Regions from separate parts of the Homo sapiens genome. Here region 2 is linked to region 1. Evidence: promoter capture Hi-C in human tissues and cell types (Jung and others, 2019). All regions are on one chromosome and are shown on one strand. The core of a region is centred on a gene start or on the middle of the fragment in contact, and the rest is flanking DNA. Distances in the headings are between cores, read along the strand shown.

Region 1 (3,876 bases), core at 743-3,242:
ACTTTCCCCTTCCCCAACAGTGGTTCCTTCCACAGACAGTGACTAATGGTTTTTTCTTTTGGGGAGAGGGTGGCATACAACATAGAGGCTTGAACCAAAGGCCTCTGCAATGTTGTCACACTCATGAGGATGAATGGTCCTTTCCGCCTACACACAGAGGGGCAAGGGCTTCAAGCTCTTTCTTTCCTTGACTGTGTTATCAGCTTTACAAATTAACACCATGCTAGTTTGATCCTGCTAGAAGTACAGGAAGGCAGAAATGGAGGATTAGGAGAATTACTCATCTTTTGGATGAACAGTTTCCAAATCCCATTTGGCACATCACTCTAGACTGGTAAAGGGGAGGCTGACACTGAGGCCACAGACCCAACTGGCTCTAGGACATCACGTTGTTCAGTCCTTTGCTTATCTAATCATTTGTGTTCTTACCCAGTGCTCACTAGGTCACCCACATAGCCACTTCCCCTCCCAGCAAAAGTTCCCAGTTTAGGCACCTGTCTGGGATCATCCAGTATCCAAGCTTAGGGGTGAAGGGAGGGAGCAGAGAACTAGTCTCAACTGGTTCGTTGGTATATAGGTCTCTTCTCAATGTTCCTAAAGTGCATGCAGTGGCATCCCCCTCAAGGCCTGGCTCCATGATTCTGAGAGGACTAGAATCAGGACAGTCAGATCTGTGGTCACATCCTGCCCAATTCCAGCTCTGAGGTCCATCAAACCATCTGCTTCTCCCTTGGCAAGAAGCTCCCTCTGTCTGACTGGCAGCAGGGTCAGTGGCCATCCTTTTCTACCTTCAGCTGTTGTGCATCTCCTCCACGTTTTCCTGGAGTAAAGGAACAAGCAGGTTCTTATCCAAATACCCAACCTGTGAAGATGAGACGGCCCTTGGGAAGAGGTATTAGCCAAGTTTTCAGTATGATGCCCGGCAGAAAGAATTTGTTGTCTTTGTCTTAAGCTTATTATCCTCCCAGGTCATAGGAAGATCTAAAGTCCAATCAGTCTCCTTACTCAGAATTCACAGCTTTCCCCTCAAACTTAAAATGCCCATGTCATTTCACGAGTACCCATAACTACCCATCGTTTAGATACATGTCCTCCCTTGGTCTAGAAATCTGCAGCAGTTCCTACTTAAACTGATGGATGCTTTGGGCTTTGGAGGTATCTCATCCCTATGCCTGTTGCCCTGAAGCTGCCGGAAGGAAAGGCCCCACTCAACTACTGGGAAGAAAGCCCATAATTCAAGGCTTTTAATACAGTCACTACACAAGCTCTCCCTCTGATTTAGGAGATCTTGTTACCTCCTCATCTACATGTGCTTAAAAACAAAAAGAAACCTATAATTATTCAATTCACCTGTGGTCCAAATAAGTCTCACATCCAGCCATTCCCCTGAGAGGGCAGGAGGCCAGACTTTGAACTTTCCACAGCTGGGTCTTCATTTTACTAGTGAGATAAAGAGGTGCAGATTAGGGTGACAGTCCATCTAAGCAAGTGGACGATCTGGGGAACTGTAGGCCTTGCTGAAGCATCCTCCCACAGAAAGGAGATAAGGGCCTTATCCAATTGGCTGTACACAATAGATCAGTGCTTCTTTCCTAGACAAGGCTGAAAGGGGCCAACATTATTTCTGAAGACTTCATTATTGGAATTCTATGGGAGTGATCTCACTGAGCTATTTTGGAATAGAAATGTGGCTAGTTGCCTGACCTCCCTCAATGGTTTCACGTGGCTTTCAAAGGGAAGGAAGGGCAGTGCTGACTTTTGGTAAAATGGGCGAAAGGGTCCATGCCAGCAACACAATCACTCAAAGTCCAGATGAGGGATCAGTAAATACAACGTGCCTGAAAGGTGGCCCTTGAGCACATTCCTCCGGTAGACATTAACTTATTAAATTGATTCTGATTACAAATATAAACTTTGCCCCCATCTCACCCAGTAACAATGCAAGAGTTGATGTCAGTCTATAAAAGGAAGTAGGAACTGTCCCTGGCTTTCAGGCTCCAACATCCTCCCCCTGTCAAGATGTGGCACCTCAAACTTTGTGCAGTCCTCATGATCTTCCTGTTGCTGTTGGGCCAGGTAAGGAGGGAAGGATACTTATGTGTGTGTGTGGAGTGTGGAGATGATAGTGGTGGTGGAACTTGAAAGCTAGATTCAGTCCTGAGGAATGGTTCCTCTGTTCTGAGTCTACAGCATCTGCGGAATGGAATGATCACTCTTCCAAGGTGTGCAGCAGGGTGTCAACACTTTCATATCTGAATGTCTTTGCCCTTACAGATAGATGGCTCCCCAATACCAGAAGTGAGTTCGGCAAAGAGAAGGCCACGGAGAATGACCCCATTTTGGAGAGGGGTTTCCCTCAGGCCTATTGGAGCCTCCTGCCGGGATGATTCTGAGTGTATCACAAGGCTATGCAGGTACTCCCTGAACCTGGGAGCAGGGTTGGGCCAGAGAGCCCTGGGAAGCTGGGCAGAGGAGTGACAAGGGGACACATGAACCTAAGAATAAAGCTGGGATGGAGGAGTTCTAGACTGAGACTGGGAGCTCCATGGAAAATCCCTTAGGAGTTAGGAGCCAAGAACAGCTCTATGTGGGTACCATGAAAGAGTGGTGCCTTTCCATTCTTCAGTCTTTCCTGAGACTGGACAGATCAAGCAAAGAGGAAGGAAATGCAGCATAGGTGGCCCTGGTCATTCCTAGACCCAGTCTTAAAAAACTACCCTTTCTTTTCCCCTAGAAAAAGACGCTGTTCCTTAAGTGTGGCCCAGGAATGATGTACATACCAGGGAAAGAAAGGACAGCAGTCACCTCCGACAATGCTCCGTTCTATGGAATATTGATTAACTGCATTTTGGCTGGAGACACCCAAGTGAAGCAATCTTGTATTTTTAATATTTAAAGGCAGATGTACGCTTTAAATTGGTCTCCATTTCTTCTTAGAATGTTGATATATGGATAAGCATAACTAAACTTGTCAATTTAGAGTTTATTTTTCTATGGATACTATTAAATGTCTCAAATTGAAATTTTAGCAGTCTGGAATTCAAGCTTTTGAGGGAAAGAAGGATTCATTTTGTATACTAAAGAAAAAAACAGCATTGCCCAATAATGTGTTAACTTCTCAATCTGGAAAGTGTAGTGAGAGCTACATAATCAATAGCTACGTAATCAACTTCAGCAAGTTCCTAAGCTGTGGCCCTGGATCCCTTCACTCCATACTCTTCAGGGAGGTGTCAAAGGTGGTCAAGCTTGGGAGGCTGAGGCAGGAGAATCACTTGAACCTGGGAGGTGGAGGTTGCAGTGAGCCAAGATCATGCCACTGCACCCCAGCCTGGGTGACATAGAGAGACTCTGTCTCAAAAAAAAAAAAAAAAAAAAAAGATGGTCAAGCACTTGCCATCTAATGAAGCACCCAGGTTTGTCTATGGCTGTCTGAAGATAAGGCAGAACAGAGAGAAAAATCTAGTTTAATAAAGCAATGAAAGCCCAAGCCACCAAAAGCACCAAAAGAGATTTAAGATTTCTGTTGGGACAAGGTGAATTTTGACATATGCACAAGGACCCATGGCCAGCAAGTTCAGAATTTCTGTAATCAGAAAATGAGACCTCAGCTGGTGGGAACAGACTTTTAAAGAGTAGTAACGGACCTTAAGACACAAAACAGGAATTGCATGAAAAGGGCTCAGAGTTGAAGAAATATAAAGAGTACAGTGTTCAGTAACTTTAATACAGAAAATCTATTTGATATTTATTAAACTTAGTTTCTCCAACTATGGTTTGGCATTGTACAAAGCATCTTAATGACACAGTAGAGTTAAAAAGATCTTTACAAATTGAAATGTGATACCCTTGTCTCCAAATATTTTAATTGCCATAAAT
Region 2 (3,766 bases), core at 1,246-3,745, 520 kb before region 1:
ATGGTTTTCAGCTCCATCAGGTCATTTAAGGTCTTCTCTACACTGTTTATTCTAGTTAGCCATTCGTCTAATCTATTTTCAAGGTTTTTAGCTTCCTTGCGATGGGTTAGAACATCCTCCTTTAGCTGGGAGAAGTTTATTATTACTGACCTTCTGAAGTCCACTTCTGTCAGCTCGTCAAAGTCATTCTCCACCCAGCTTTGTTCCATTGCTGGCAAGGAGTTGTGATCCTTTGGAGGAGAAGAGGTGCTCTGGTTTTTAGAATTTTCAGCTTTTCTGCTCTGGTTTCTCCCCATCTTTGTGGTTTTATCTACCTTTGGTCTTTGATGTTGGTAACTTACAGATGGGGTTTTGGTGTGGATGTCCTTTTTGTTGATGTTGATGCTATTTCTTTCTGTTTGTTAGTTTTCCTTCTACCAGTGAGGTCCCTCAGCTGCAGGTCTGTTGGAGTTTGCTGGAGGTCTACTCCAGACCTGTTTGCCTGGGTATCACCATCAGAGGCTGCAGAACAGCAAATATTGCAGAACAGCAAATATTGCTGAGTGATCCTTCCTCTGGAAGCTTCATCCCAGAGGGGCACCTGCCTGTATGAGGTGTCAGTCGGCTACTGGGAGGTGTCTCCCAGTTAGGCTACATGGGGGTCAGGGACCCACTTGAGGAGGCAGTCTGTCTGTTCTCCAAGCTAAAACACCATCCTGGGAGAACCACTGCTCTCTTCAGAGCTGTCAGACAGGGATGTTTAAGTCTGCAGAAGTTTCTGCTGCTTTTTGTTCAGCTATGCCCTGCCCCAGAGGTGGAGACTACAGAGGCAGTCAGCCTTGCTGAGCTGTGGTGGGCTCCACCCAGTTCGAGCTTCCACAGCCACTTTATTTACCTACTCAAGCCTCAGCAATGGCGGATGCCCCTCCCCATGCCAGGTTGCTGCCTTGCAGGTCAATCTCAGACTGTTGCACTAGCAGTGAGCAAGGCTCCATGGACATAGGATCTGTCGAGCCAGGCACAGGATATAATCTCCTGGTGTGCCATTTGCTAAGACTTTGGAAAAGCGCAGTATTTGGGCAGGAGTGTCCCGTTTTTCCAGGTACCATCTGTCACGGCTTCCCTTGGCTAGGAAAAGGAAATCCCCTGACTCCTTGCGCTTCCCAGGTGAGGCGATGCCCTGCCCTGCTTCGGCTCACCCTCCGTGGGCTGCACCCACTGTCCAACCAGTCCTAGTAAGATGAACCAGGTACCTCAGTTGGAAATGCAGAAATCATCCGTCTTCTGCGTCGATCACACTGGGAGCTGCAGACCAGAGCTGTTCCTATTTGGCCATCTTGGAACGGAATCCTCAATGAGATATTTTAAGAAGTTAAAAAATATTTGTAAAGAGCATCTGAAAAAAGAAATATGTAATATGTTTAAGAAATTTTTGAAAAAGATCATTGATAAGGGGAAATGTTCTCTTACATATATAAAAACACACAATGACTACACTACTCTGGGTTTCCTGGAAAACACACAAACACACACACACACACACAGACACACACACAAAAGATAAATCAATCAACGAAATAGAAGAGGTATCACAGAAACAGACCCAAGTGTTGAAAAATTGTAACATATGATAAAGATGAATTATAAATTATCAAGAAAATGATACATTGTTGAAGACTGGTGCTGGGACAATCGACAAGCTGAAGAACTGGTAAAAATGGAAAAACTGGGGGAATAAATAGTATCCCACCATAAACCACATACCAAATTAATTCCTGATCAACTAAAGAGCCAAATGTAATAAATGTAAATAAAATAGAGCCAAGAGTAAATAAATCAAAAGCTAGAAGAAAATATAGGTGACATTTAATTTTAAGATGAATAGGAAATTGAAGATAAATAGATTTTACTATAAACTTTTAAAGAATTCTGTACAACAGAAAATCTTAAAATTAACTCAAGTTGGAAAAGTATTAACAAAAACATACTGGACAAAATTACCATCCTTTGTACATATGCATCAATTTTTGTAATGCCCACTAATACTCCAGTTAAAGCAAATAGGGCTAAGTACATAGCCTTTGGAGACAAGTGTTCCAGGACCTGATGCTGGGTGTGTCACTTCTCTATCAGCTGTGTGACTTTGAGCAAGTTACAGTCTTCCCTAAAACTCAGCTTCTTCATCTGTAAAGAGGGATGATAACAATTCCATTTGGGTGGGGATTACATGAGACAATGCATACTGTGTTTGGCTCCATACCTGGCAAAGATGTCCACGTTTTTGCTATCTCTCATCTTACTCATGTCCTCACACCCCTTCTTGGCCAGCTTAAATTCCATGCTTAATCATCATAATCATCTTCCTTGCCCCTTTCTTATCTGCCTTGCTTTTGTGGGAAACTATAAAGCTGGTTAAATCTAACCTCCCTCCTACTTCTTGCTAGCACCTGCATAGCCAAATGTAGATGGAAAATATATTCCATCTGACTGGTTTCACTTTAAACTGACCATCAGTGACTTCAAGAGGATCCTAATTGCCCTGGTTCATTCTCTATCCTGGAAGACCTTCTTTCTCTTCAGAACTCCATCACCTCCTCCCCCATGATCACCCTCAGCTGTGCCTTGGCTTCCTATTTCACCTAGAAAATAGAAGCAATGGAGAGAACCTCTACAAGCAGCATAATCCACCAGCCTAACTCCATCTGTACCCACACCCTCTGTCTTTTCTCCCGTTTCTCCTGAATGGTCTCTCCTCCCCGCTGGAGTGCAGTGGCTCACTGCAACCTCTGCCTCCCAGGTTCAAACGATTCTCATGCCTCAGCCTCCGAAGTAGCTAGGATTACAGGCATGCACCACCATACCCAGCTAATTTTTGTATTTTTAGTAGAGACAGGGTTTTGCCATGTTGGCTAGGCTAGTACTGAACTCCTGGGCTCAAGTGATTGGCCTGCCTCAGCCTCCCAAAGTGCTGGGATTATAGGTGTGAGCCACTGTGCCCGGCCCCAGCCTTATATACTTCTTACCCCTCCCCCACCCCCTACTCCCTTACCAACAGCAGAAAAGTAACATGATGTAATTGAGATAGCCCTGACTACTATGCTGAGAGTAGATTGAAGGGGCGTAGGAGCAGCCTTAATGAAGAAGGATTGGCTGGGGGCTAACAGAATACAGGCAAGAAACTGGATTCTACATATGTTGAAATTATGGCAAAAGACTTTATTGACAGATTGGATGTGGAGTACGAGAGGAAGAGCAGCCAGGAAAATAAAGTTTCCATTTACTGAGTTGGGGAGGACTTCAGGAAGAGCAGATTTGGGATGAAATTAGGAGCACATGTTGCTCTAGCAATTCTCCTGACTCCCCCATCATAAATCTTTTCCCTCTCTACTGGATCTTTCCCATTCAGTATGCAAAGAGGCTGTAAAAGCTCTCTCTTGACCCAGTTTCTGCTGTCAGCTCCTGCCCCATTTCTCCCTGTCCCTTAGCAGTGAAACTCCTTGGAAGATTGCTATATCTACTTGCTACTTTCAACTTTGTTCTTCCAATTTTCACTTGGCCCCACTACAATTAAGCTTTAGCCCTCACCTTTCACCAGAGCACCTCTATCAAGGTCCGCAGTGACCTGCATGTTTCTGAATTCAATAGTCAATTCACAGTCATCATCTTACCTGACCTCTCAAGGCATTTGACAAACTCATTTCTCTTTCATCCTTGAACTGCTTTCTACATGACACTTGCGCCAGGCGTGGTGGCACACACCTGCAGTCCCAGCTACTTGGGAAGCTGA

What was found. Contacts are between HindIII fragments. The study calls those that stand out against the background at their distance.
Region 2: a fragment that was not itself captured here is called in contact with the fragment with the promoter of LEAP2 in region 1 in 2 of the 25 tissues and cell types used here (mesenchymal stem cells and spleen).

Annotation. Positions count from the first base shown.
Region 1 is chr5:132,871,676-132,875,551 of GRCh38, forward strand. LEAP2 (liver enriched antimicrobial peptide 2) reads left to right here and starts at 1,993. Exons shown (of 3, transcript NM_052971.3): 1 at 1,993-2,076; 2 at 2,275-2,414; 3 at 2,735-3,371. The coding sequence starts at 2,020. The coding sequence ends at 2,771. AFF4 (ALF transcription elongation factor 4) reads right to left here. Exons shown (of 21, transcript NM_014423.4): 21 at 3,720-3,876. The HindIII fragment of the contact is 2,304 bases long and covers 1-1,998 here.
Region 2 is chr5:132,348,583-132,352,348 of GRCh38, forward strand. It overlaps MIR3936HG (MIR3936 host gene), which reads right to left. Exons shown (of 8, transcript NR_110997.1): 5 at 1,233-1,375. Among named protein-coding and RNA genes, the nearest start is that of MIR3936, 15 kb to the right of the region's middle. The HindIII fragment of the contact is 5,583 bases long and covers 1-3,766 here.